Linked DNA regions of Homo sapiens: regions 1, 2, 3, 4, 5 and 7 are each linked to region 6. The links are contacts of gene promoters, found by promoter capture Hi-C in blood cells and fetal thymus (Javierre and others, 2016). All regions are on one chromosome and are shown on one strand. The core of a region is centred on a gene start or on the middle of the fragment in contact, and the rest is flanking DNA. Distances in the headings are between cores, read along the strand shown.

Region 1 (3,325 bases), core at 638-3,137, 430 kb before region 6:
GATATTGTATCTATAGAAGTCTATGTAGAAATAACCAGTTGCATTATAAATAACTATTCATGTTTCCATCTCTCCCAGAGGCCTAGAGATCCTCATATTAAAGGAGACTGTTTTTCTTAATATTGTGTCTCCAATATCTGGTTAAATATACTAACTATAATAATTATTCGTAAATGTTGGCTAAATGAACATGGCGGAGCCTCATTGCTGACTCAAACTCCATTCTTCCCTTTCCCCGTAGGTAACAGAATGCCAGTTTCACTAGAGTTCCAGCATACTCTGGTCAAGACTATATTTCCCAGTGTTATCGCATGTGGCCATGCAATTAAGTTCTAGCCAATTAAATGTATGAAGAAATACTGTGTGGGACCTCTGGGAAGGCTCCAGAAAAGAGGTACCTTATTTGTTCTTCTTTGTTCTCGCTTTCCTCCTTCCTACTGACCCAAGTTCAAACAGCAGCCATCTTAGACTATGAGTTAACCATGGAGCCACATGACAGATGGCAGAAAATGAAAAGTGTGTGATGACTTACTTTAAGGAGCCTCCATAACAGCCACAGATATCCAACTTGCAGAGTTCTTTCACATGAGAACAGAAAGCCTCATGTGTTTAAACCACCACAGGCAGGTCTCTGTTACATCCAAACCTAATCCCTAATGTATACAATGACTGTTTCCTGAGAACAGTTTTACCATTAGTAAAGGAACCCTATGAAAAGTTTTCAAAGTTTCATAAAAGTAAGCAAACTTTAATCTAAGTATGCATTGGTTCTTTGGTCTTTATTGAAACTATGACTTGGTGAGAGGAGGAAAGGATTTTCCTTTTTTTTTTTTTTTGGTTGCAGGATACTATGGGGAAAGATTGTCTTGCCCATGTAATCATTCCTCCTAATCAAGCTCAACATCCACACATATACCTTATTCATACCCCAGGGAAAACAAGCTGATATGCACAAATTTTTAGCACTCACACAAATACACCAATTTAAAGATGTCTATTTCCTTTCAGTTGAACAAACTTTCAGTGAACATTTTTACAATCAACTTATTCAACCAGCACAAATCCTACAGAAGCTTTTAAAATGTTTAAACTTCTAAAATTGACCTACTATTCAGAAGACTCATTCATGCTAAAGAATAGTTAATGAGACTTTTACTGTAGAATTAAAACATCAACTATGCTGAGGCAGTTCTTCTAAAAAAATTCCTTCAAGGTTAAAAAATTAAAATAAAACAAGAGTGTTTTGATTTGTGGCATCATAAACATATTAGGCAAATGACTAGAATGGATTTTATAGAAGCACATGTGATATTAAATTGAGATCAATATGTCACAGTCTTGAATTTTTAGAAGGGTCTAAAACTATCACCCACCTTGACATACATTTAAGAAAGAACATCTACAGCTGAAAGACAGACTTTCTCTTAGTAGAATGTGTAGGTTTACAGTGACACAAGGAAGAATTACTAACACAAATTAAATCTTTATTTTTAACTGTTCAAAATGAGACCATAAAGGGTACAACAACTGACAACCCCACTGAATCCTTTAAAGTAACACCTAATAATACCCTGGCAGACACTGTGGCAACCCTGCCATAAACGAGCATTCACATTCTTCCACAATAGTGAAATCTATTTACATCAATTCTACCATCATTAAATTATTGGTTCAGCCTATTAGATTTTAACCTCCTGGAATTCTAATGGAGCTTCTACTTCCAGGTAACATTTTAAAAAGACAAGAGTAGGCCGGGCACAGTGGCTCATGCCTGTAATCCCAGCACTTTCGGAGGCTGAAGCGGGCGTATCACGAGGTCAAGAGATTGAGACCATCTTGGCTAACATGGTGAAACCCCGTCTCTATCAAAAATTTAAAAAAAAATTAGCCGGGCGTGGTGATGGGCGCCTGTAATCCCAGCTACTTGGGAGACTGAGGCGTGAGAATGGCGTGAACCTGGTAGATGGAGCTTGCAGTGAGCCAAGATTGCGCCACTGCACTCCAGCCTGGGCAACAGAGCGAGACTCTGTCTAAAAAAATAAATAAGTAAAATAAAAAGGAGTAGCTACCAATTTCCAATTTTATAAAATTTCTCCTTTAGCTCCTTAAAAAGGCCATAACACTATTAACAATCTTCTATAATTAAAAACAACTATTTTCTAGACCTAGTTGGAAGAACAACTTAGGAACTAGAATGAACATAAAGAGAGATGGTAGTATGGCTTACTAAGATGAATAAATTATTCTCTGGTTAATTTCTCTTAAATACAACATACGAATTGAAAAAGTAGAAGCTGCTTTCTATATTTTGTTTACAAGAATTAACTTAAGTGTCTGTACAAAACCTCATCACTTTTGTGACCACACGTTCATACATCCTAAAATAGGTAACAGTCTTGATTTGCACAGTAAAATAATCTACCAGGACGCTTAGGGGAAGATACCTTCTTCATCTTTAACAGGAAGTTACCTGAAGGCAAAACAGACTGTAAAAGATTTGGTTTACTGCTTTGTAACTACAAGGGGTTAAGCAGGAAGTAGTCTTACCTGTACCGTTGAGCGTACTGTTTTTATTTGTGTACAGCCTGATCATATGACCTATTGTTTTCACATTTTCTCTCAACATTATACCTCGAGCTTGTACCATAAAGAGATATGTGTTGGCTATAAAAGAAAAATAGAGAAAGAATGTCATAACACAGTAAGCTTTTTTTTATTTAATAAAATAATATTCAGAATTGGGGAAGTGCCCAATAAACATAAACTGACTCAATCAGCACGTCCAAACGCAAAACAGAAATATAAAATATTGCCTACTATAAAAACTGACAAAAACAAACTGATTTTTTAAGAATAAAAACAAAAAAAAAGTTGAAATACCCACCTATCAAATAGAATGAAACTAACTGAACAAACTAAAATATTATAATGAACCCCCACATCTGTGATTTTCTACTATAAAATATACTTAGAAATTTCAAAAAGGCATTTTATTACAGATGCTCAATCCTACAGTTACAAAATTCAGTTTCTCTAATTATATATTAATTTCCTACCAAAAACTTCACAAAAGCTAGGATTCCTTATAAATCCCATAATATCTAGTAGGAATAAAGATCTTGCAATGGTCCTGAAAATTCTTGATGTGTTTGCGGGGAGGGGTGATCTAGGATCAGTATCTGTTTGGGTCATTTCTAAGAGTTAATTAAACTTTTACACTCCCTTTCAATCACAAATCTTTCTACCAGGATGGTAAAAGCAAATAAAATCAAAATCAATGTGTATTTTTAAAGCAGCTCAATTTAATTATTCACAATAAGTGCTT
Region 2 (3,421 bases), core at 202-2,701, 470 kb after region 6:
CGGGGTTTCACTGCGTTAGCCAGGATGGTCTCCATCTCCTGACCTCGTGATCCGCCCGCCTCGGCCTCCCAAAGTGCTGGGATTACAGGCGTGAGCCACCGCGCCCGGCGGGAAAGACTATTAAAAGCAGATGAAACTATGGACCATTACATGAGCCATGAAATGTAGTTTTCTTAAAACAACAATGATACGGTTCGGCTCTGTGTCCCCACCCACATCTCATGTTGACTTGTAATGCCCATGTGTTGGAGGAGGGGCCTGGTGGGAGGTGATTGGATCATGGGGGTGGATTTCCCCCTTGCTCTGCTCGTGATAGTGAGTGAGTTCTCACGAGATCTCATGGTTTAAAAGTGTGCGGCACTTTCCCCTTCACGCTTTCTTTCTCCTGCCGCTCTCTGAAGAAGGTGCTTGCTTCCCCTTCGCCTTACACCATGAATGTAAATTTCCTGAGGCCTCTCAGCCGTGCTTTCTGTACAGCCTGCAGAATTGTGAGTCAATTAGACCTCTTTTTTTCATGAATTACGCAGTGTGAGAATGGACTTATACACAACATGGTACTACAGCAGCTAAAGTGAACCAGCCCATCTTATTGTTTTAATTTTGACATCTTTTCAAGTAAAATTAAAATGCTGTTGGTGTCACTTAAAATAAAATGTTTAACAATAAGACAAGGTTGAGAAGTTGGTTATAAGCAGACGTCACTGGGGAGAAGAAAAAAATGCATCTCAAACTTGAGTCACGTGGCATGTAATTACACAGAGAGAGGTGCACAGCTCTAAAAAATGCATTTTGAAAAGCATTACATTTTGTAAAAAACATCAACCCCTCAGGTCTGGAGTTGAAGAATGAGTCACGTCTGAAAGCAGGGAAGTGCTTGTGATTTAGCATTTTAACTCTTGGGGAATGGCTTTATACAGAATAGCTGGGAAGATTTAGCAAAATTGGTACTTTCTCTTTAGAACCGTGAAGCCGCAGGATTCCTGAGAAAAGTGGGCACGGTTGGTGCTTAAGCTTTTAGTCAATGAGTGTTGTGAAAAATAAGAATAAAATCATAATGACTTTTTCAAATTAAAATGATGTTAGAGGTCACTAATAATCTAAATAGAGATGACCATTATATATAGATGGAGCCTAGCTGCAAGGTCTAAGCTTGCCTAATTTGGTCCAAGATTGCTGAAATATTAAAAAAGAAAAACAAAACAAAGATGCCGGGAGATATGAAGCTCACCCATGCTCTGACTACCAGCCCCCTGCTATCCTATCTTCTGCATTTTTAAGACCATGTTGAACACTAGTTTTGACTTACCCTCACAAGCCTTAGCTTCCTAAAAGCAGTGGCTTAATCATTATCAGGTCACTGAAATCACAGTTCTCCCAGCACCCAGAGTCAAAATTCCTGAGTCTTCTTTGATACCTTCTTTAATTTCATCTCCCATATCCTGTAAGTCATTGTGCCTTTAGGATCTTTTAAAAAATATCTGAGATTTGTTCCTTCCTTTCTACATCTAAAGTCACATCAGTCTGTGACCTAATCATCTCAAGCCTGGATTGCTAAAATTGCTTCCTAGAAGCACACTGCTATGACAATAAAAGTATGCCTGCACATTTAAATTAAAGAGCTGTTACTACCCTTGATGAGTCTGTAACTGCTAACAGTTTTTAATGTGCTGAATTGTCTACAAAATTACTTGTGTAAACTTCATCAAAAGCATATAAATGTATTGCAAAATTCATAATTATAAAATATAAAGTGTAAAGCTTATTGAAAATGCATCTCCTATTGAAATGGATAAAGATGGCATTTTCCCCCATCAGTTTGTCAATCTACAGATGAATATTGCTTATCACTATAATGGGACAGAATTCACCTTCAGTTTTCTCCTCCCTCTCTCCCTCCCCACCTCCTCCATCCTTCTTCCTCACTCTCTTTTTCCCTTTCTTTCTTAACCTAGGGGTGGGTGCTGAGAAAACTTGCTGGCAAAAGTTGGTGGAATGGAAGAAGTTTTGAGATAGGACTATCATTCAGTTATTTGAAGTCCCTCTAAGTTGTATGCCAGAACAATATAGTAATTCATAATCAAAAGTATTTTTAATTATTTGGCAGCTGATGACCTCATAATGACCTCATATAATTTTGTAAAATGCAAGCATTGGAAACCCTCTGATTTTGCAAATCATTTAATTTCTCAATATCTAGGAAATGTATTAAAAAGACTTTAATACAACTTATTAGCTATTATTCCCATTAGTCTTTAACTTAGAGACCCTTGTTTATGGTGCTAAAATGACATAAAACTGGGGTAAAAATAACTCCATAAATTGGATGCTTTGTACTTTAGGAATGTACCCATTTTTTTTCTGAGCAGAGATCTATATATTAATGCCAAATTTCAATTAATCTAGGAAGTTATCTCAAAAGTCTTTAAAAGTCATGACACCTGAGAATTATTATATATAAATTCTAATATTAAGTTTTAATGGAAAATAAATTTTTACAATTATATATTTGACAGAATTAGAAGAGATTTGAATCCTCAAAAGAGAAACTAATTCTAATTCAATGAAGCTGGTTTTCTAGGATTTAATTTGTTATATACTAGAATATGATATGGAAACATTTTGTCTGACAACTGCATAAAGGAGGATATTCTGTTTTAAGACTATAGGTTTATATTTTTGTAAAAATTGACATAAAAACTATAGACCATTATTAATTATAGGGCTTATAAAAGATGTTTTAAGTTAAAAGATGCACTAAATTAAAAGATGGATTAAATATTGCTCTCAGTACATGACTTATGATAGACACCTATAACAATCCTTTTATTTTAATCTTAAACTCTAAAGTCTGGATTATATAAGCATGGAAGTAATTGACAAATGCAGACAAATGGGAGACTTGTGCCTGAATGAAAAACGAATATCTGTTTATAGCATCTAATAAATTTTTTTTTTGAGACAGAGTTTCACTCTTGTTGCCCAGGCTGGAGTGCAGTGGTGCTATCTCGCCTCACTGCAACCTCTGCCTCCCGGGTTCGAGCAATTCTCCTGCCTCAGCCTCCTGAGTAGCTGGGATTACAGGCACGTGCCACCACGCCCAGCTAATTTTTGTATTTTTGGTAGAGATGGGATCTTGCCATGTTGGCCAGGCTGGTCTCAAACTCCTGAGTTCAGGTGATCCACCTGCCTCAGCCTCCCAAAGTGCCAGAATTACAAGCATGAGCCACCGCGCCCAGCCTATAGCATCTAATAATGCTTTGGCAAAGGTTAATAAAATGTTTCTTCTACCTATGTGAATAATATTTAAAAAAACACGTTAACTTAGCTATTACCATATATTCTTTATACTCAAAGTTATACTGTCCTTCTACAGAAGTGATAACGGAAATTTTGACCCTTTCTTCTGAAATCATGCAAAATA
Region 3 (3,772 bases), core at 389-2,888, 450 kb after region 6:
GAGATGATGGTGCCTTGAACCAAACAAGTGGAAGTGAAGGATTAAATAAAATAATTGAACTAATAGAACTTGGTACACAAAGGCAATCAAGAAAAATTGGCTGAGTGCAGTGGCTCATGCCTGTAATCCCAGCACTTTGGGAGGCCAAATTGGGAAGACCACTTGAGTCCAGGAGTTTGAGACCAGCCTGGGCAGAAAAGTGAGACCTCATTTCTACCAACCCCACCCCCTCACCCCCACACACAAATTGTTTTAATTAGCTGGGCATGGTGATGCTAGCCTGTAGTCCTAGCTACCTGGAAGGCTGAGGCAGGAGGATTGCTTGAGCCCAGTAGTTGGAGGCTGCAGTAAGCTACGATCACACCATTGCACTCCAGCTTAGGTGACAGCAAGACCCTGTCTCTAAAAAAAAAAACAATAAATAAAATGAATGTTCTATCAATTGGTAAATGGCTTCAGTTAGACGATACTGGCACAGCTGTGCTGCATTTGTAATATAGGTTCACAACTGTATTCTTTTTCTCCCTCCTTTGACATTTCCCCCTGTTTGACTTGCTTTTCAGCATGCTTCCCCATCTTCTCTCACAGCATTTATCATAGTACACTGCATTTACAGGTTTGCTTGTCTCCTCCAATAATCTGTAAGCTCCTTAAATACGAACAATGTATTACGTCAGTAGTTCCTAAACTTAAGGTTGGTAGGAATCACCTAGGGATTTTGTTAAAATGCATATTCTGACTCATTAGATGTTGAGTGGGATCTGATTCCTTCCTAATAAGACCCAGGTGACGCCAGTGCTGTTAGTCTAACGGGATTACTATCGGTAGAAAAGTCTTTAACCAACTTTTTATTCCCAGTGCTTAGTAGAGTGTCTGGTACATAGCAGACTTTTTGACAAATGTCTGTTGAATAAATGGCCTATTCTACCTTGCCAAAGTCTTTGCTAATATTTCCTTTCATGTACCTAAATCCCAAGTTATGATTTTAACATCACCCTATATTTTTAGTTTTCCATGTCAATTTCTTAGCTCCTCAAGTTACTCTCTCCTGGACAGTTCACTTTCGTGTCATGCTGAAAACAATTTTGCAAATCCACCTCAACTACCACCATATTCTCCAAATACTTTCTCAAGTCTCCTCCTAGGAAATGATTTTTCTCTCCTTCTACTCAATTTTGCTTCTTCTTTTAAGAAGAGATAGAAAATGTGCCTGTTTTTCTATTTTTCTTAATGTTTTATGTTTACTTCCATTCAAATCTTGCTCGAAGTGCTACCCCTAACCCCAGAACCTCCATACTATACATACTTTAGGAGGAAGGGAATCTAAATCTTCACTTTTTCTAATTACTGTATATGTAATAGGACCCAGTAAGTATTCATGGAACCAATGAATCAATGAACATAGGTGAGTGAGTCAAGGCAAATTTTGTGAAAAGAGGAAGGACCTTGGCTTCCCTTCTTGACTTTTCATATTTGAAGTATTTCAGGGAGAACTTGTAGCTATCATACATATCTTCCAAAGTCTAAATAAGCCAGTAGGTTCCTGTGGAATTTAGATAGAGTGAGTGACAGGTTTTACCAATGATCTCCCAGCTTTTGGCCGGACACAATGGCTCATGCCTGTAATCCCAGCACTTTGGGAGGCCAAGGTGGTGGATCACCTGAGGTCAGGAGTTCGAGACCAGCCTGGCCCACGTGGTGAAACTCTGTCTGTACTAAAAATACAAAAATTAGCCAGGTGTGGTGGCGGGCACCTGTAATCCCAGCTACTCAGGAGGATGAGACAGGAGAATCACTTGAAGCTGGGACGTGGAGGTTGCAATGAGCCAATGTTGCGCCGTTGCACTCCAGCCTGGGTGACTACATCTCAAAAACAAAACAAAACAAAAAACAAAAAGAAAATGATCTCCCAGCTTTTTAAAATATTTAAGATGTGAAAATGGATCAAGGAATGTGAATGTGATAGTGTCACATCTCTGTTCTCCTTGTTCTCCTCCTACTCAGAAGATATAATCGCCCTGAATCATCTTGACACCTGTTTTGTGAAAATACTCCATGTACACATAAAAACCAGTGTTCCAGACAATCATTAAGTCTTTTATTCTGCAGTCATCTCACCAAAGATCAGGGAACTTTGGAGTCTGCTGAACAAAGTGACTCTGTTTCTTGGGATAAAGTGTCCCAGGATCCAGAAATAAGATAACTAGTAGGTAAATGCAAATTTAATTTTAGAACATAGCAACATACATCTTGTATGTAAATTGAGAGTGTCCTTTTAAGTTGACAAAGCATTCTAGCTACGCTTTTATTTACTTTATAAATAAGAGATTGGTCCAAATTTTAAAAGAAAAAGTCTGCCACTGGCTTATTTCATGACCGTGTTCATGAAAAATAGGCTATGAGTTTCCTATTTGAAACTTAGACATGTATAGTACTTGATATCTGAGTAAGGTGAGGTATTGTTTGCTTTAGTAGGTCAAACAGTATTTTCTTCTACTATTTTTACATTATTAATTTGCCTACTGTTTAAATAAATGGGAGGTACGTTTTCTCAAGGCTGGATATATCACCATTTCTGAATTAGTGGGATCTAACTTAATGGATTTTCCACATTCATCCATCATCTATCTTTTCCAGTTTGGTTTTCCATGCCCATATCAATAACCAGATAAACTAGGTGAGATTAGATCCTTATGCAAATAACATAATTTGTAAACACCCAAAATGACTCCTCTGCCTTTGTCTCCAGAGATAATATTCAAATAAAAATTACCATGGATACACAATTAGGTCACTTTATTTTTCTTTAAAGAAAAATATTTTCCTTGTCTTCATTAGGACAAGATTAGTTGAGTCATAAGCAATCAAGACTCTCCAATGTTTCGTAAAATACATCAAAACATTCAACTGATGAGAGTTCAAAGCATTGAGAAATACTGAAGAGGCAGGCATGCAGGCAGGAAGGAGGCTGGCTGGATGGTGTCGGGGTGCAGGTTTATTTGTGTTAAACCAAATGGGGCATTTTGGGCAGAGTTTCTTCTGAGAGAGTTATTTTAGGATTCCAGGTAGTCAATCTTTGTGACTCCCCATCTCTCCCAACTCACCACATTCCTCTCCCCATTTTCCTTAATCTTTATGAGGCACTATTTAGTAAATTATCATGATGAAGGTTGTGGCCATCCCTTGGCACATGTGTGGTGGTGGTTTGGTTTGCTTCCAGTGTTCTCCCCTGTACCACTCTCCCTGCCTCTCCGCCCGCCACTTCCTGCCTTCATTTCTCTCCTTGCAAGCAATCTCAGTCCTTCCAGCTTTTCCAGCTCTTTCCTACCCACTCTTCATCTCCCACTTCCTGGCTGTGTGATCTACTAGGGCCTCATGAGCTGGTAGAGCTTTTAGCAATCATAAAAGTGACAGGTGCTGTTGCATAGAAGACAGGGGACCTTATATGTTCCTTCCCCTCAGTATCACCACGGCCCCTCTACCATGTCACCTAAAGGAATTATTGTTCTTTCAAAGGGTTTAGGCATTTTCAAACACATCAACAAAATGCTGCTCTTACCTAAAAGGGAAAATTGCCATCTTAATTCTGATTAAATTTTAGGAATGTGTTTATCATAGAGAAAAACATCTATCTATTGGTTTTATCCCCCCATCTATCTATTGGTTGGTCTCTTCTTTATTCTTCTCATCCCTGACATCTCTGCTCACCTTTTGCAGGTGTCTTTGTAAGTCTTTTACCCACTTCCTCTAAACTTTGAGATTTGACTTTCAA
Region 4 (3,725 bases), core at 44-2,543, 450 kb before region 6:
CCAAGACCTCCTTCCTGCCCCCGCACAATGGCTGCCAACTGTACTGGAACTATATACTGAGGGGCACTTACTGCTGGGCTTCAGCGCCAATGGCTGGCATATTCAAGGAATTCCCGAATCAAAACAACTGTGAAGCTAGCTCAGGGGTTTACTTTTAGGATGGAAAAGTGCTATGAAAAGTAAAAGGAGCAAAAGAGGTTAGATGGTGAGTACATATCCCACCACTAACCTTATCTAAAGCATATCCATGTGATAACATGTAGCTTAGTAAGTCAAGCCTGCCCTTCTTGATTTTGAATTTGGCCACGAGTTGGCCACCTATGACATAATGTCAATGAGCTGTAAAAGCAGTTAAGGCCAATTACAGATATTTGAGGGAAGAAATTATTAAATGGCTGCAGAGTCCCAATTAAAGACAGTGCATATTAATTAAAGACAATTAGACTGAGTGATGAGCTGAACATATAAGGATAAATAAAAAGTAAAGTTCTAGCTCCTAATACAATAATCTCTTCAATGAAGTATTTAAATATCAAGTGTTTTTTCTTTTAATCTCATAAGGAAACTGAGACGGTAATAAAAGAAATTACCAGTGTCTTGGCAAATTCAAATAAGCTAACCTAATGTGCTAACAGCAAATAGATGTCCAAATTTTAATGAGAGGGTTATTAAATATTGTGAATATGTGATAAATCTAAGGCAAAGCTTTTATTAAAATAAAGCTAAACAATATCTTAAAAGTTCATCTGGCACATCAGTTCTTGTGTTTGTGGAAGAATGTCCTCCATAGTTTACAATTTTTTTGTCTAGAAAAGATCTCAGTGTTCTGTGATCATTTATTTTAAGGCTTAATAGCCTGTTTCAGGACATTCTTCTATGTGCCCTAATTTGCTGTTTGAGCCACTCTCTTGCTGATACACCTCCAGTGGAGACCGAGAATATCTGGTCATTATCTTCTGATAAAACAACACTTCATCCTCCTGAATCTCTCCTCACCACCTCTTGATCAAGCAAAATTATTCCATTCAGTTTGCTCCTACTTTAAAACCACAAATCTTGCTGAACATATGCACCATTTTTTCCCTTGCTTATTTTCTCCTATATACACCATGAGGAGAACATCAAGAAAAATGTGTATCACATCAATTTCTCCCACCAAGTTTCTGTCCTGCTTTCAAATTTTCAGCACACCACCAGCTACACTGTCCCTAAATGACATGGCTTTAGGCTTGGTAACCTTAAGGTGAATCTAGTTATCTGCCACTGAGTAAGCAGAAGCTAGTAAGCCCTCATTCTCCTTCAGTGTTTTTAGTTTCATCTTCCTATTCCTCCTCATTTCCAGTACCTCCAGGAGCAGTTCTCAAACTGGAGGCACTTGGTTAAAAATGCAAGTTCTTGTTCCTTCCCACCAATAGAATCAGAATGTTTGAGGACTGAGTTCAAGAATCTGCATTTTTTTTCTTTTAGAGATGGGGGTCTCATTCTATAGCCCAGGCTGGAGTACAGTGGTGTGATCACACCTCACTGCAGCCTCAAACTCCTGGGCTCAAGTGATCCTTCTGCCACAGTCTTTCAAAGCACTGGGATTACGGGTTTGAACTACCACACCTGGCCAAAAATCAGCATTTTCACCATATGCCTCAAGTAGTTCTGAAACAGGGAGGCCAAGACTCATCTTTGAGGTACATTGGACTATAAATGAAACTCCAGGCCTCTGGGTAGACAAGAGCATCAAGCAGCTGCCTGGTTCTTTAAGCCTGGAAGTTATAGACCAAAGTTGTTCATCAAGCCCTCCATCTGAAATCTGAATGGAAAGTCAATGTCACAGGTACACTTCACTTTTAATGACCTGCATAGCATTCTCATGTTCTTCTTTAGATACAAGCTTGCCCCAGAAGGTGTCCAACCTGCGCAGATCTTCTACTTAAACCTGCAGCATTCAAGAATACCTAGGAATTGCTGAAATTACTAGTGGTTTTTTGTTTGTTTGTGTTGCCCAGTCTGGAGCGCAGTGGGCGCGATCTTGGCTCACTGCAACCTCTGCCTCCCGGGTTCAAGCAATTCTCCTGCCTCAGCCTCCCGAGTAGCTGGGATTACAAGCCTGCACCACCACGCCCGGCTAATTTTTTTATTTTTAGTAGAGACGGGGTCTCAACAGGTTGGCCAGCCAAAATTACTAGTTTTGAAAGATCTCAGTTCTAATTAATTTGCCATCAACTAACTGCATTGGTATTTTTCTCATTTAAAAAAGGGGCCTCAAATATTAAGAATCAAGTTGATGACAGATGTTTAACATAAATCTAGTTATTTCTTATTTCCCTCTCTCTCCACTGTTCCAATATGAGAATGGAACATTATCAGTAAGCAGGCAGGGACGGGTAGGGGGAGAAACCATTTAACTAAATATTTAGTGAGATGATAGTTATATAATATTTATATGAGTACAGCTCACTTCTGAATCATCTCCAAAATTCCTTTCATACCTTTAGTTGTGTAATTCTGAACTAGAGACTACATTCTGAGAAGGATTTGCTAAAAGTTGAAATAAAAGCAGCATTATCATATAGTTCCTAAATAAAATAATTTATTTTGAGACAGCTTGCTCCTTCACCCAGGCTAGAGCGCAGTGGTGCGATCTCGGCTCACTGCAGCTTCCACATCCCAGGTTCAAGCAAATCTCACGCCTCAGCCTCCGGAGTAGCTGGGATTACAGGCATGTTCCACCATGCCCGGCTAATTTTTGTATTTTTAGTAGGGATGAGGTTTCATCATGTTGGCCAGGCTGGTCTCAAACTCCTGGCCTCAAGTGATCTGCCCACCTCAGCCTCCCAAAGTGCTGGGATTACAGGTATGAACCTTAGATCCCTGAATTAGTTTGTTCCCAGGAACTCTTTTCCATACTGTTACCTACTGAATCATATGTAGTTTACAGTCAGTCTACTAATATCTTTAAGTAGGAAATACTCATGTGATACACCTGTCTCCTGGAAAATGAGAAGAAAACAAACAAAAAATTTAAAATCCATCTGGTATAGATCACTAGAAACAGGAGAAAAATACTTCATTTTTCCTATCCTAAACTGTTCTACTAGTATGCTACCCAGAGCACACCTGAGGGGTGTGCTACATTCTGTACAAACAACTATCTGAGCATGAACCTCCATGCTATCCCACAGCCTCGGTGACTGAGTATGCTTCTTTTTCTATTAGCATTCAATATACACACTCAGCACCCAAGTGTTAAAAATAATTTATGTGCCCAGGCTATTTTTAAAAGGTGGAATGTATGTAAATTGGGCCGCATTTCATATAGCTACAAATGTGAGGAAAATCAATCAAGAAATATGAAGAGATTCATTTGTTAAATGAATCTGATCTGGGAAATAGTGTAAGGTAATTATAAAATTAAATGTTTTGCTAAAATTGGTACTGGAATCCATTTAAGCAGCTTCACAACTTGTTCAAGGCAATAAGAAAGCTGACCATTTATTGAATCATTTGTAACAAGGCCAAAAAGGCTTTTATTTGCCTTATAGAGTCAATTCAACAAAACTGTGTTTAGTGCTTACCTTACACAAGACAATGTGCTCTGTGTTGGGAATACAGATACAAATAATACACATCTTCAAACACGAAGAGTTCATGGTAGATGAAGTCAGAGGGTCTTTTTCATGAGTTTAACAGCATATGATTTTCCTTCCTACTAGTGGTTTTTTTTGGGGGTG
Region 5 (3,761 bases), core at 1,139-3,638, 410 kb before region 6:
AAACTGACAGTATTTGTTGCCAATGATAAAATTCAAACTTTCAAGCGAAAATCTGAATTTTGGAAAACTGCTTCCCAATACTTAAAGATACAAAAGATTAAAAAGGAGGCTTTTTTTGGCTAAATGGTACAGGGTTTTGGAAACAGATTCAGCTTGACAATTTCACAGCATTTTGTAAGTTTTTGGTTTGCACTCTTCTAACTGGTTTTAATAACTTATTATCATTTATAAGACCTACAAAAACAGAGTAGGTTAAGCCACATCAATCTAATTGCCTACAAGACACGTGCCAACATTTTTACATTATATCAGTGACCGTTCTATGGCAAACATTAAGCATTCAAATAAGGAAAATTTATTAGTGTTTCACACAAGTTGAATTAAGAATCTACAAATAATATACTGACGCACTAACTTTAAAAAAAAAGGGATGACTAGAATTCTGATTTCCTTTGGTTAGCTTTTTGAGTAATATAACTTTAACATGTTACTCATAATACTAAGAAAGTGGGAAAATTGTTATGTAAGTGTGAAAAAAACTTTCTCCAAAATCTTTCAAAGTTAAATTCCTAGTAAAAAAACATACCCCAAAGATGTCCAAACTTTTAAAGAGTTACATGAGAAAGTAAAAATTGCTATAGAATGAAGAGTTAATTTATAAGACTCCAAAATGGCAAAAAATAAAGAAAGCTCTTGTTGAGTATCTAGATAATATCAAATCCACTAAGCTACCACTGTCATTTGTACTATAGGCTTCAAGGGGTAGGTTTTTGTGAGGTTTTTTGTTTTTTCTGGCCTAAAGGAAAACTGCAATAATGTTAAAATATTCTTCAAACTTTACCCTAAAACTTCTATTTTGGGATACGTCAACGTTTCACAATGCATTTCTTCTTAAACATCATCATCTGAGTTTATACACCTCACTGAATCCAAAAATTAATTATTAAAGAAAAAGTCTCATAGTAATTTTAAGAAATGAAGCAGTCTGGATTAGGTTTCCATCTTCCTTCCCTGCTGCAATTCACTGCAATAATCTACTACACTCAAGACAATGCCCTGATCATTCCATCTGAAAATTCTGCAGGTGTTTTCACTCTGTAAGGGGCATTACATTTTTAGCTAACTCGGAACAAAGAGCACTGGCTCAAACGACCACAGTGTGTAAGGAGAAATGAGAGGAGATGCTCACTGTTACTAAGTAATTGAACATTAAATACGTAATAGCCAGGAAAAACTCAGAAAAGTTTTGGAAATATGACATATTTTAATATGCATGTGAAGTTCATAATTCTCATTCACTAGAATTAACGCCGCATTGGCTCCTTTTCAACAAATGGGGGACGAGGAATTCGGATATTTAATAAAGAAGTTAATTCAAGCAGTTTTACAAAAGTGTATTTTGCACCAAAGGCCAAAAAATGATAAACCGGTTAACATTTTAAACTACAAGTTCCCTTAGATAACGGTTATTTTAATCACTATTTTCTCAGAAGTCATCCTAACAGGTAGCAAAGGCAACGTACCCTTGAAAATAACACCCAAGCAGACTAAAATAATGGAGCATTGTTTTTACAAGACAACTCATCGCCTTAAAATTCCCCAAGTATGGCACAAAAAGAATGGGGTCCACTGACCCCATTCTAAAAAAGCGACCTAGGACCCTAGAAAACACACATTGTTGGACTCAATCACATTCCCTGCTGCTGGCTCCTCCATATTTTTACAACCAGTTATTATACCCGAGAGTGTTTGAATAAAACTACGATTAAGCACTCAGTTTAGGCTTAAAGACTTAACATTAAATGGATAAAGCTGTCATGAACACTCAAGAAAGCGACTAGGGCATCCCGGGCCATCACACTAATTTTGCTACGTCTATTTAATGCAATCTTTTACGTTATTAACAAACATGCATTAACAAAATGCATGCATTAACAAAACTCACATACCAAAGCCATGCCCTGAAGCAGTTTGACACGTCTGAAATAACATTTAAAACAAAACGCTTTTCTGCGGGCCCCTGTTTGAACAGCTTCCAAATCCCAGAAGTAACATCGGATAACAGCCTGCGCTGGCTGTGGTGTGACCAGGGGAAGCGAGGGTGTGTCTCGGTGCTTACCGATGCCTGGGGCCACATAGATGAAGTACAGACAGGACGAAGAGAGGGAGAAGAAGAAGATGAAGGCGAGGAGAGAGCGATTGGAAACCCGCATCATCCGCCTGAGCACAGACATCTTCCTCTTCCCTGCCAGCAGCCCAGGCTGCGCTCTCAGGCCGGACTCGGGGCCACTGTCCAGGCCCTAAACTTCCATAAATGTGCTGAGAACCCCGAGACTGCAGCGGGGTCCGCGCGGGGAGGCTCTGGGGAGAGGGCCCGAGCGGAAAAGAGGAAATGGGAGGGAGCGGACGGAATGAATGGGAGGCCAGAGAGTCGGGGGAGGGGAGGCGCGGAGGCCGAGGGACAAGAGGTGGAGGGGGGAGAGGGGACTGGGGGCTAGGGGCCCGGGGACGGCAGGACGGAAGAAAGCCGGGGAAGGGCGAGGAGGAGCGTTTTCTCCGCCAAGCAGCGGCGGGAGGAGGGGCTGCAGGTGGGAGGAGGCGCAGGCTGCGCGCCGCGGCGCCCCTGCGGAGAGGGGCAGCTAACTGCAGCACGCCCGGCTCCGCTGCCCGCGCCCGGCGGGGTCCCGCCGCGAAGCCCCGTGCTTAAGGTCCGGGCCGCCCGCGTCCGCTCGGCAGGCCCTGCGCCGCCTCCTACTCCGGGCCGCGGCGTCTCCTGCCTGCGCGGGGCTAGCGTGGGCGCCGGGGCCGCAACCAGCGCGCGCCACGCGCGGGGGCCCGCGGGGGCCCTCGGGGCCGAGGAGCTGGGCGCTCGCCTGCACCGAGCCGCCTCCTCATGCCGCGCCGGGCCCCGGCGCCCCGCGGCCGCCGCGGGAGCTGAGCACAGGCCAGGGCGGCGTCCCGGCCAGCGACGAACGCGCTCCGACTCCGGCCGCCGCCAGCTGCCTGCCTGGCCGCAAGGGCGGCAGCGGCATTACCGCCGCGCGCCCGGGGTGAGGCGCCCCCGCCGGGCCCGCGGACACCAGGCGAAGAGCAACCGGGCGACGCGCGCTGCGGGCAGAGCCGGGGAGCCGGAAGAGCAGAGGCCGAGCGCCGTCGGAGCCGCGTCTGGTTGGAGAAAGAGGCGGACGTGAAGGGGCGGGGGAGCCGCGGAGGAAAACCGGGACCGGCGGGAACGTCTCGAGACCCCTGCGCGCTTCGCGCGCTCGCTCGGAACTCGGCAGGCGGCGCTGCGCCGGGCCCCGAGGAAACCTGGAGGTCCCCGCCCTCCCCGCGCCCGAAACACCGCGCGTCCTGATAGGCCCGCGCCCAGCAGCCCCCTCCCCGCGCCCGCCGCACCGGGGCCCCACCGCCTCCTGCGTCACCGCCGCCCCCGCCCGCCCGGGGACCCCGCGGTGACCGCGCTGCTGGGGGTTGAGGGACGCGTTGCGAGCCCCGGATACATTGTACCCTGGGGGTACATAATGAAGGATGCTGTACCTGAAAGGAAAAGGGCATCTCCAAAAGGGGACTTCGCGGGTGGAATTTCCTTCCAAAATCCTCGAGGAACAAGGTGTATTTCCGACCTGGATTAATGAATCCCCCCTCCTATCCCGCACTTCCTGTGGAAACAGTGTCAGGATGTGGCGCGGACCTATGTGCGTCCCTTATACCAGGACTTGCCTTCAACGCTGAAGGTGAACCCTGGGTCATCCTCGCTGTAT
Region 6 (3,712 bases), core at 892-3,391:
TGACTTATTAGAATATATGGGGGAGTGATACAAATATGTTTGGATTAGACATAAGTAAAGCTGCCGTTGCAGAGAAAGAATGAAGCAAATAAAATTAGGGTCACAAAATTAATGTTATGGTTAGATATTCCCAATGAATAATGGGAAACACTATTATACAGAAAATACACCTTACTTCCTAAATGGTCAGAATGAATGAAATGAGTGGAATTATCAAAAAAGTAAAATGTAGGCCAGGCACAGTGGCTCAGGCCTGTAATTCCAGCACTTTGGGAGGCCAAGGTGGGCGGATCGCTGGAGGCCAGGAGTTCGAGACTAGCCTGGCCAACATGGCAAAACCCTGTCTCTACTAAAAATGCAAAAATTAGTTTGGCATGGTGGTGCATGCCTGTAATCTCAGCTACTTGGGAGGCTGAGGCAGGAGAGTTGCTTCAACCTGGAAGGCGCAGGTTGAAGTGAGCTGAGATCATTCCACTGCACCCCAGCCTGGGTGACAGAGTGAGATTCTGTCTCAAAAGAAAAAAGAAAAAAAGTGAGTTTTCTTCTCTGGGCTGTTAAAAATTTGAACTCAAAGAACCATTTTATAAGTGAATGTGAAAAGCACCTGAACTACTGCTATTAGCTGCCCCTCTCGTCACGTGCTCTTCCTCCTTCCAGGAAATCTGAAGCTAGTATTAGCTTTCTTGTCTTGCTTCCACTGCGCTTGCTGCTAAGGAGGAAAAGCAACAAAAATACAAAATATAGTTTGGTAGAGGGAATTAGCTATTCATTGGACAAATTATTATTATTCTAGGAATCAATGCTTTTGAGATGTACATTAAAACCCATTTCCTCCATAAAGTTTTCTGTTAACTCTATATATTTCTAATCATTCCATTTCCTATCCTCATTATAGCCATCGTTTAATGCAAAATTTAATACTTTGGCAAATACCATTTTTTCTCTCTCATTCTGATAGATATGTAATAATGTAAACAGGTTGAGAGCAAAGTTCATGACATCTGCATAACACCTAACAATGCCAATGTCAACATAGACAATAAATGGCAGAATTGATTTAAATAGTCCCTTAAATGGCTTCTGTTTATTCATTTAGACCATGGGGGAGGGTTTTAACAAAGGATGGTAATAAAACCTTTCTTTTCTCTGAAGCTAATTGTAGATGCTGTATAATGTTCCAGATTTTCCTTAGCTTCTTTCACGTCATTGTGGATCCCATCTTATCGATTTATCCTTTTTTTGTTCTTCTTTTTTTTTGAGAGTCTCACTCTGTCGCCAGGGCTGGAGTGCAGCGGCGCGATCGCGGCTCACTGCAACCTCTGCCTCCCGGGTACAAGCGATTCTCGTGCCTCAGCCTCCCGAGTACCTGGGATTACAGGCTCCCACCACCATGTCCGGTTAATTTTTGTATTTTTAGTAGAGATGGGATTTCATCACGTTGGCCAGGCTGGTCTTGAACTCCTGACCTCAAGTGATCCAACCGCCTTCGCTTACCAAAGGGCTGGGATTACAGGTGTGAGCCACCGCGCCCGGCCTTTTTTCTTTCTTTTTTTTTTTTTTTTTTGAGACGGAATCTCACTCTGTTACGCAGGTTGGACCATCTTATAGATTATCAATTGTACAGATAATTGCACTCCGGCCTGGGAGACAGAGTGAGTACCTGTCTCAAAAAATAAAATAAAATAAAATAAAATTAAAAAAAACACTTAAATTAGTGAATAACCTTGGTGAAAAGCCACGTCCATGCTTCTACGGCATTTCTCTTCAAAGCTAAAAAAAAAAAGAAAAAATCAAAAATCAACCCAAAGGTGTAGTAGAAGACTGCATCTGCGACCGTATTTAAGCATCGGTCATGCTGTTAAAGGAGAAAGTGGACATCCTCTCAAGGAAACTTTAATCCTGCCCCCAAAGGATTAAAATCCCGTAACAAATATTTGTTTATAACACATCTTGACAAGATCAAAACATTCTGGTAGGGCAAATAGTAAAGACTAAATCTTGAACATTGACGAAAACTTCCTGAAAGGCCCAATGTATTTGACAGGAGAGGTAACTGGGGTCCCGGGCCTAGCGAGGCGGGGCGGGGAGGCGCAGGTGTCACCGCGGGCGCCCAGCTGCTTACGTCACAACCCGCGGAAGGCGCCGTGCGCCGGTTGCTATACAGGCCGCACTTCACACCCCGTGCCTCCCCGCCTCTCCTGGCTCCTCCGCCCAGATCCCCGGCGCTCCCGCGTTCGGTGACGGCCGGGTAGGCTGTAGGCAGCGCAATGCCAAGACAGAGCTGCTGGCGGCGGCGGGCGAATCTCCCTGCACCATGAGCCTCGGCTCCGGCCCCGTTAGGGGCCGATAAGCACAGCGCACGCCGCCCTCCATTTGCCCCGGGGCCTCGGCTGCGAAGATAGCGGCGGCCGGACAGGAAGCTCGAGGAAAGCGCTGGGCCGGGTCTCTACGAACACGTGAAGGAAAAGCAGCTCCGTCCACAACGCCGCTTCGGGGCTCCTAGGTGAGAGTCTCCCCGGCGGAAGCGTGGAGGGGCCGGGGTGCCGGGAAGCGGGGCGGGGAGGAAGCCGCGGACACGGGCTGGGCACTCGGGGCTCGGGGTCGGGGTGAGTAGAGGCGGAAAAGCAGTGAAAAGGGAGGCCTTGGGCGAAGACGGGGGCTGAGGGCGGGGCGCGAGCCCGCGCCTGGAGCCCGGTGAGGGCGTGGCCTAGAGCGTGAGGCCGCGTCCTGGGGCGGGGTGAGGGGCGAGCGGGGCGGGCCCACGGCATGCTGCGAGCCCAGCCTCCCGCCAAGCACCGTCCCCCATCCAGCCCCCTGTGGGAGGAGCCGTGGGAGGGGTCGCCTCTTGCCCGGCGCGTGCGGCAGTAGCGTCTCTGCGTTCGGCCCCGCCCTACCCAGGGCCCCGCCCCCTTCCTGGCGCGCGCTGTATCCTGATGCGATCCCCCTCCCCCCTCCGGGTTCATGTAGGGAGTCGGGCCCCGGGCCGCCACCGTCACCTCGGCCGCTGCCGCTGTCGCCATCGCCTTGTTTCCCCATCCCCCGCCATGGCCGAGGACCTCTCTGCGGCCACGTCCTACACCGAAGATGATTTCTACTGCCCCGTCTGTCAGGAGGTGCTCAAAACGCCCGTGCGGACCACGGCCTGTCAGCACGTGTGAGTAGACGCCCCCTCCCCCTCGCGGAGCCGGGTTGTCGCTTAGGCCCGGCCTCCGGCCCGGGACCCCGGGCTGCCGCCTGGCGGGAACCGAGCCCGCCGCGGCCTGCCCGAGCGTCGCTGCCCCGCGAGGTCCCGTTCCCCGCCCCTCAGAGTCCCGGGGCGGCCTTTTCCTCAGCCTCGGGGCCCGCTCCCCGCGTCCAGCCCCCTCAGCCCAAGCTCCCGCTCTCCCGCTCTCCCGCTCTCCCGCTCTCCCGCTCTCCCTGGCTTTCGCGCCCCCGGGGCAGTGGCCAGGCCGTTCCCTGCGGCGTCTTCAGGCCCCGGAGGCCCCTGTCGTCTCCGCCAGGCCCGGGAGGAATTGCAGGGATCTTGGAGCCTTTTTGTTTCTTAGCAACCCGGGTGAAGGCTGGGGTGTCGAGTGTCAAAAGCGGCCGGCGGTGCTCGCGCGGGCCCGCTCGCCCCGCGACCTGCCCTGCTTTCAAGTTTCCTCTTTCAGAACCTTGGTCCGTCCCCTCGGTCCAAGAGCTCTTCTGTAACTTCCCCTCAACCCTGCTTCAC
Region 7 (3,454 bases), core at 400-2,899, 380 kb after region 6:
GGGCAGCCGGTAAGTGCTGACCAGGAGGTCGAGCGGCACGGCCACCGAGCTCCACTTCACATCCTTGAGGCTGCAGCCCAGCGAGGGCGCCGGGTCCATCTTCCCCGAAGCCTCCTGTCCCGCGCTCCCCCGCCGCCGCCACCGGCACCACCCGCGCCTCGGCGGCCGCCGCTGCTCGCGCTCGCGGTCTGGGGCGCGCGGGAGGCGCCGGGCAGCTCCGGCCGCGGGCAGCCGGGGGGGCGCGGCGACTGGGGCGGCCCGGAGGGAGGGGGCCGGCGCCCGGCTCAGCTGCCGCTGCGGGGCATGGCTGGGGCGCCCCGCGTGCCCTCACGCCCGGAGAAGACTCAGAGCAGCCGCGCGGCTGCGGGCGGCGGCGGCGGCCCGGGTGGCTGCGGCGGCTCCCGCTCCGCCTCCTCCTCTGGCCCTGGGTCTGCAGCTGCGGCGGCCGCCCGCTCGCCTCCTCCTCCTCTTACCCCTCCTTCCCTCCGCCTCGAGCGTGTGAGGAGGAGCCGCGGGTCTGAGAAACGCCATAGCAGCGCTCCCAGCACTGACTAATCAACAAGGTGCGAGCAACGCCTGCGCAGCTCTGGGAGACACCGCCTCCGCCTCCCAGGCGCCGCCCGCTCCGCCCCCAGCTCGGCCTCCGCCTCCCGCAGCTCCCGCGGCCCGGCAGGCTCGCGTCAGCTCCCCGGCCGGGGCCGCCAGCGCCCGCGGCTCGGCGCGCTCCGCAAGCTTTAGCTCTCGCTCCCCCGTCCGACCACTCGGGCGCCCTGCAGTCTCGCCGGGTGCTGCTGCGCGCCCCGGCTCCTTCCCCGCCCAGGCCCGTCCCCGGAGCCCGGGAATTGCCGAGCGAGCTCAGGTATCGCTCCCTGAGTCGTGGTGTCGGGCACCGTCCGCCTCCACTCCCATCCTGGCAATGCGGTGGCTAAATACAAGGCACAAAAGATACCTTTAGTGGCGCTCCCTCTTGCTTCCCGGTGACCCAGACTTTGGTCAGAAGAGTACCACAGCCCAACGGGGCTGCGGACGGCAGGCGTGGAGCACGCCTTGGCGTTTCCCCTCAACCCTACTCCTCTACCATCGGAGCTGGAAATGACTCCCAACAGTCTCAGCTTTGGCTACTAGATAAGATAAAAAGGGCAAAGCACCGAAAAGCGGAAAGGTGGTGGGTGATGAGTACCCACATACAGGAAGGTGGCCATTCGGTCTAGGACCTTCACTGAGTGAACGAGCTGCTGGAGGCGACGGGAGTTGATGAGGCCACCAAACACCGTAGACACGGAGATGGGAAGGGAAAACTAGGTTACTGGGAGGCTGCTGGGGTCAGCTGTTCTCACCCGCTTTTCCCATTCAGTTCTCTTCTCATCTTAAAGGTTGGGATCATTCTCGTTTTCTAGGTATATGTACCAAGACATTAGGTAGTTTGGCAAGATTTTATAACTCGTAGATGGCCGTGCTGGGATTCAAACCTACAGTTTGCTTTGCATGATCAATCATTCTCTGTCTCTCCCGATGTTTGACACGGCCTGCTCACTGTGGACAGAGCTCAGAATATAAAGGTGGCATGTCCTGCCTTGTATGCTAATCTGCTTTCTTTCTTTCTGTCTTTCTTTCTCTTTCTTTCGCTTGCTTAACATTTTGTTAAAATAGCAGAGGTGAGTGGTTGCTAAGGTTGCGTATCTGCTCTGTTTTCAACACGTATTCAATGTTCAGTGCTTGATAAGGTACAGCAAGTACCCGCTTCGCCAGCCCAAGGGGACTTGAAAACATCCCGCTGCCTTTTCGTGGCCTGGCTTAAAAGGTCTGTGCTAATAAACCACTCCATTAACATTTGAAGAAAAACACAGATTCTTCTACACCCACCTTCCTGATCCTCTCACTTTGAAGCATTAGCGATAATTTTCACAAAATTCATCTGAAAGTTTTGACCTTTGGGTCATTCACATTGATTTTTTGAAAAAGTCTTGGAAAAAAGTGGGAAGTATTTTACTATAGAGTGTATGCAGAATCAGAAGTCCATAAAGTTCTAAGAATTGCTCACATAGAGTGTTTCGGCCGGGCGCGGTGGCTCACGCCTGTAATCCCAGCACTTTGGGAGGCCGAGGCGGGCGGATCACCTGAGGTCAGGAGTTTGAGACCAGCTTGGCCAACGTGGTGAAACCCCGTCTCCCGTCTCTACTAAAAATACAGAAAGTTAGCCGGGCGTGGGGGCAGGTGCCTGTAATCCCAGCTACTCAGGAGGCTGAGGCAGGAGAATCGCTTGAACCCGGGAGGCGGAGGTTGCAGTGAGCCGAGATCGTGCCATTGCACGCTGGCCTGGGCAACAAGAGCGAAACTCTGTCTGAAAAAAAAAAGTTTCAAAACTTTAAAGATTTAAGTGCCAGCTAATTTCTTTTTCTGAATAATTAATCACTTCTGGAAATAAAGCTCAGAATCCAAAAATGACATAGGAAACATCTAAGATTGGGCAGGGTCAAGGGTCTTTCAACCTGTAAGTAGATCCTAAACCCTTATATGGTAGGCTGATTTTTAAAAAAATGACTTTGTTACTTTTATATTCTCTTTAAAAGCTTCAGAGAATAAGAGAAGTAGTTTCCTCTCACAAAAGGACTGGTGACTTTTGACCTAAAGACAAGATAAAAAGTAAAAAGATTAATGTAATCAACTTTTTAAAAATCAATAAAGGACTTACATTAGATCTGTTATTGCTGACCTTGCAGAAAAGGTTTTATTTCAATCTTGAGTATTAAAAGGAAGAAATTTTAGTGAGCTGCAAATTCTTAGTAAGTTTCATGTCCTGGAAGAACTCTTACAGAAGGATTTTATTTGTGAGATGGAGAGTTTTGGTTAAACTGCCGAAAACAAAAACAAAAAGCAGTTGAGAGGGGTAATCTTTCAGTCTGGCTGAACTGTACTTCCAAACATGTTTCTTAAGGTTGTTGGAACAATGCAAACTGTGTATACAAAAGCATTACAACTTGGTGCAGGGGCAAAGCTTACAGGACTTTGAAGTTTATGAAAAGGAACATCCAAGAAAAGTTTTCTTTAAGGCAACAATTGATGCACTGGTCCCTTGTTCCTACTAAGTACCTTTACAAACTGAGATTTGTGAATTAAAATATCAGCTCCAGAGCCAGATGGCTTGGATTTGATTAGTGGCTCTGCTTCTATTTAATGTCATGGGAAACTTGCTGTTTCCTCCTCTGAAAAATGAAGATAATAATAGTACTCATCTCATAGGGTTGATATGAGAATTTAATCATTTAATATACATTTAGCATTTAGAATAGTGCCAGATGCATAGGAAGTGCTATGGAAGTATTAACATTTGCTATTATTATTAAAAACCATTGGCTTTAAAGGGCAAAATTTATAGAAAAGATGAAGAGATAAATGCTGACGATTTGAATAGATTTGAAAAATAAGAAATGATTAGATTTGGGAAAATAGTTAT

Evidence for each region. The method cuts DNA at HindIII sites, captures the fragments that hold promoters and counts their contacts. A CHiCAGO score of 5 or more calls a contact.
Region 1: a fragment that was not itself captured here is called in contact with the fragment with the promoter of RNF138 in region 6 in 1 of 17 cell types (fetal thymus); the score reaches 7.1 in fetal thymus.
Region 2: a fragment that was not itself captured here is called in contact with the fragment with the promoter of RNF138 in region 6 in 1 of 17 cell types (non-activated CD4 T cells); the score reaches 5.3 in non-activated CD4 T cells.
Region 3: a fragment that was not itself captured here is called in contact with the fragment with the promoter of RNF138 in region 6 in 1 of 17 cell types (total CD4 T cells); the score reaches 6.5 in total CD4 T cells.
Region 4: a fragment that was not itself captured here is called in contact with the fragment with the promoter of RNF138 in region 6 in 1 of 17 cell types (fetal thymus); the score reaches 5.7 in fetal thymus.
Region 5: the fragment with the promoter of B4GALT6 here is called in contact with the fragment with the promoter of RNF138 in region 6 in 2 of 17 cell types (fetal thymus and monocytes); the score reaches 7.2 in fetal thymus.
Region 7: a contact is called between a fragment that was not itself captured here and the fragment with the promoter of RNF138 in region 6, in 3 of 17 cell types (activated CD4 T cells, non-activated CD4 T cells and naive CD4 T cells). The highest score is 7.3, in activated CD4 T cells.

Annotation. Positions count from the first base shown.
Region 1 is chr18:31,663,709-31,667,033 of GRCh38, forward strand. It overlaps B4GALT6 (beta-1,4-galactosyltransferase 6), which reads right to left. Exons shown (of 9, transcript NM_004775.5): 2 at 2,548-2,664. Among named protein-coding and RNA genes, the nearest start is that of B4GALT6, 19 kb to the right of the region's middle. The HindIII fragment of the contact is 1,633 bases long and covers 1,072-2,704 here.
Region 2 is chr18:32,556,056-32,559,476 of GRCh38, forward strand. No RefSeq gene overlaps it. Among named protein-coding and RNA genes, the nearest start is that of GAREM1, 87 kb to the left of the region's middle. The HindIII fragment of the contact is 609 bases long and covers 1,148-1,756 here.
Region 3 is chr18:32,537,762-32,541,533 of GRCh38, forward strand. No RefSeq gene overlaps it. Among named protein-coding and RNA genes, the nearest start is that of GAREM1, 69 kb to the left of the region's middle. The HindIII fragment of the contact is 4,340 bases long and covers 1-3,772 here.
Region 4 is chr18:31,640,729-31,644,453 of GRCh38, forward strand. All of the region lies in intron 4 of B4GALT6 (beta-1,4-galactosyltransferase 6), which reads right to left. Among named protein-coding and RNA genes, the nearest start is that of B4GALT6, 42 kb to the right of the region's middle. The HindIII fragment of the contact is 1,180 bases long and covers 704-1,883 here.
Region 5 is chr18:31,682,193-31,685,953 of GRCh38, forward strand. B4GALT6 (beta-1,4-galactosyltransferase 6) reads right to left here and starts at 2,389. Exons shown (of 9, transcript NM_004775.5): 1 at 2,120-2,389. The coding sequence starts at 2,234. RefSeq lists a silencer at 2,486-3,525. The HindIII fragment of the contact is 10,803 bases long and covers 1-3,761 here.
Region 6 is chr18:32,089,733-32,093,444 of GRCh38, forward strand. It overlaps RNF138 (ring finger protein 138), which reads left to right and starts at 2,142. Exons shown (of 8, transcript NM_016271.5): 1 at 2,142-2,503; 2 at 2,968-3,154. The coding sequence starts at 3,045. It overlaps LOC124904278 (a long non-coding RNA gene), which reads right to left and starts at 2,213. Exons shown (of 2, transcript XR_007066327.1): 1 at 2,123-2,213; 2 at 1,543-1,770. It also overlaps a transcript of RNF125 not described here. RefSeq lists an enhancer at 1,841-1,890 and a silencer at 2,561-2,980. The HindIII fragment of the contact is 10,157 bases long and covers 1-3,712 here.
Region 7 is chr18:32,470,330-32,473,783 of GRCh38, forward strand. GAREM1 (GRB2 associated regulator of MAPK1 subtype 1) reads right to left here and starts at 553. Exons shown (of 6, transcript NM_001242409.2): 1 at 1-553. The coding sequence starts at 99. RefSeq lists a silencer at 308-827. The HindIII fragment of the contact is 1,838 bases long and covers 731-2,568 here.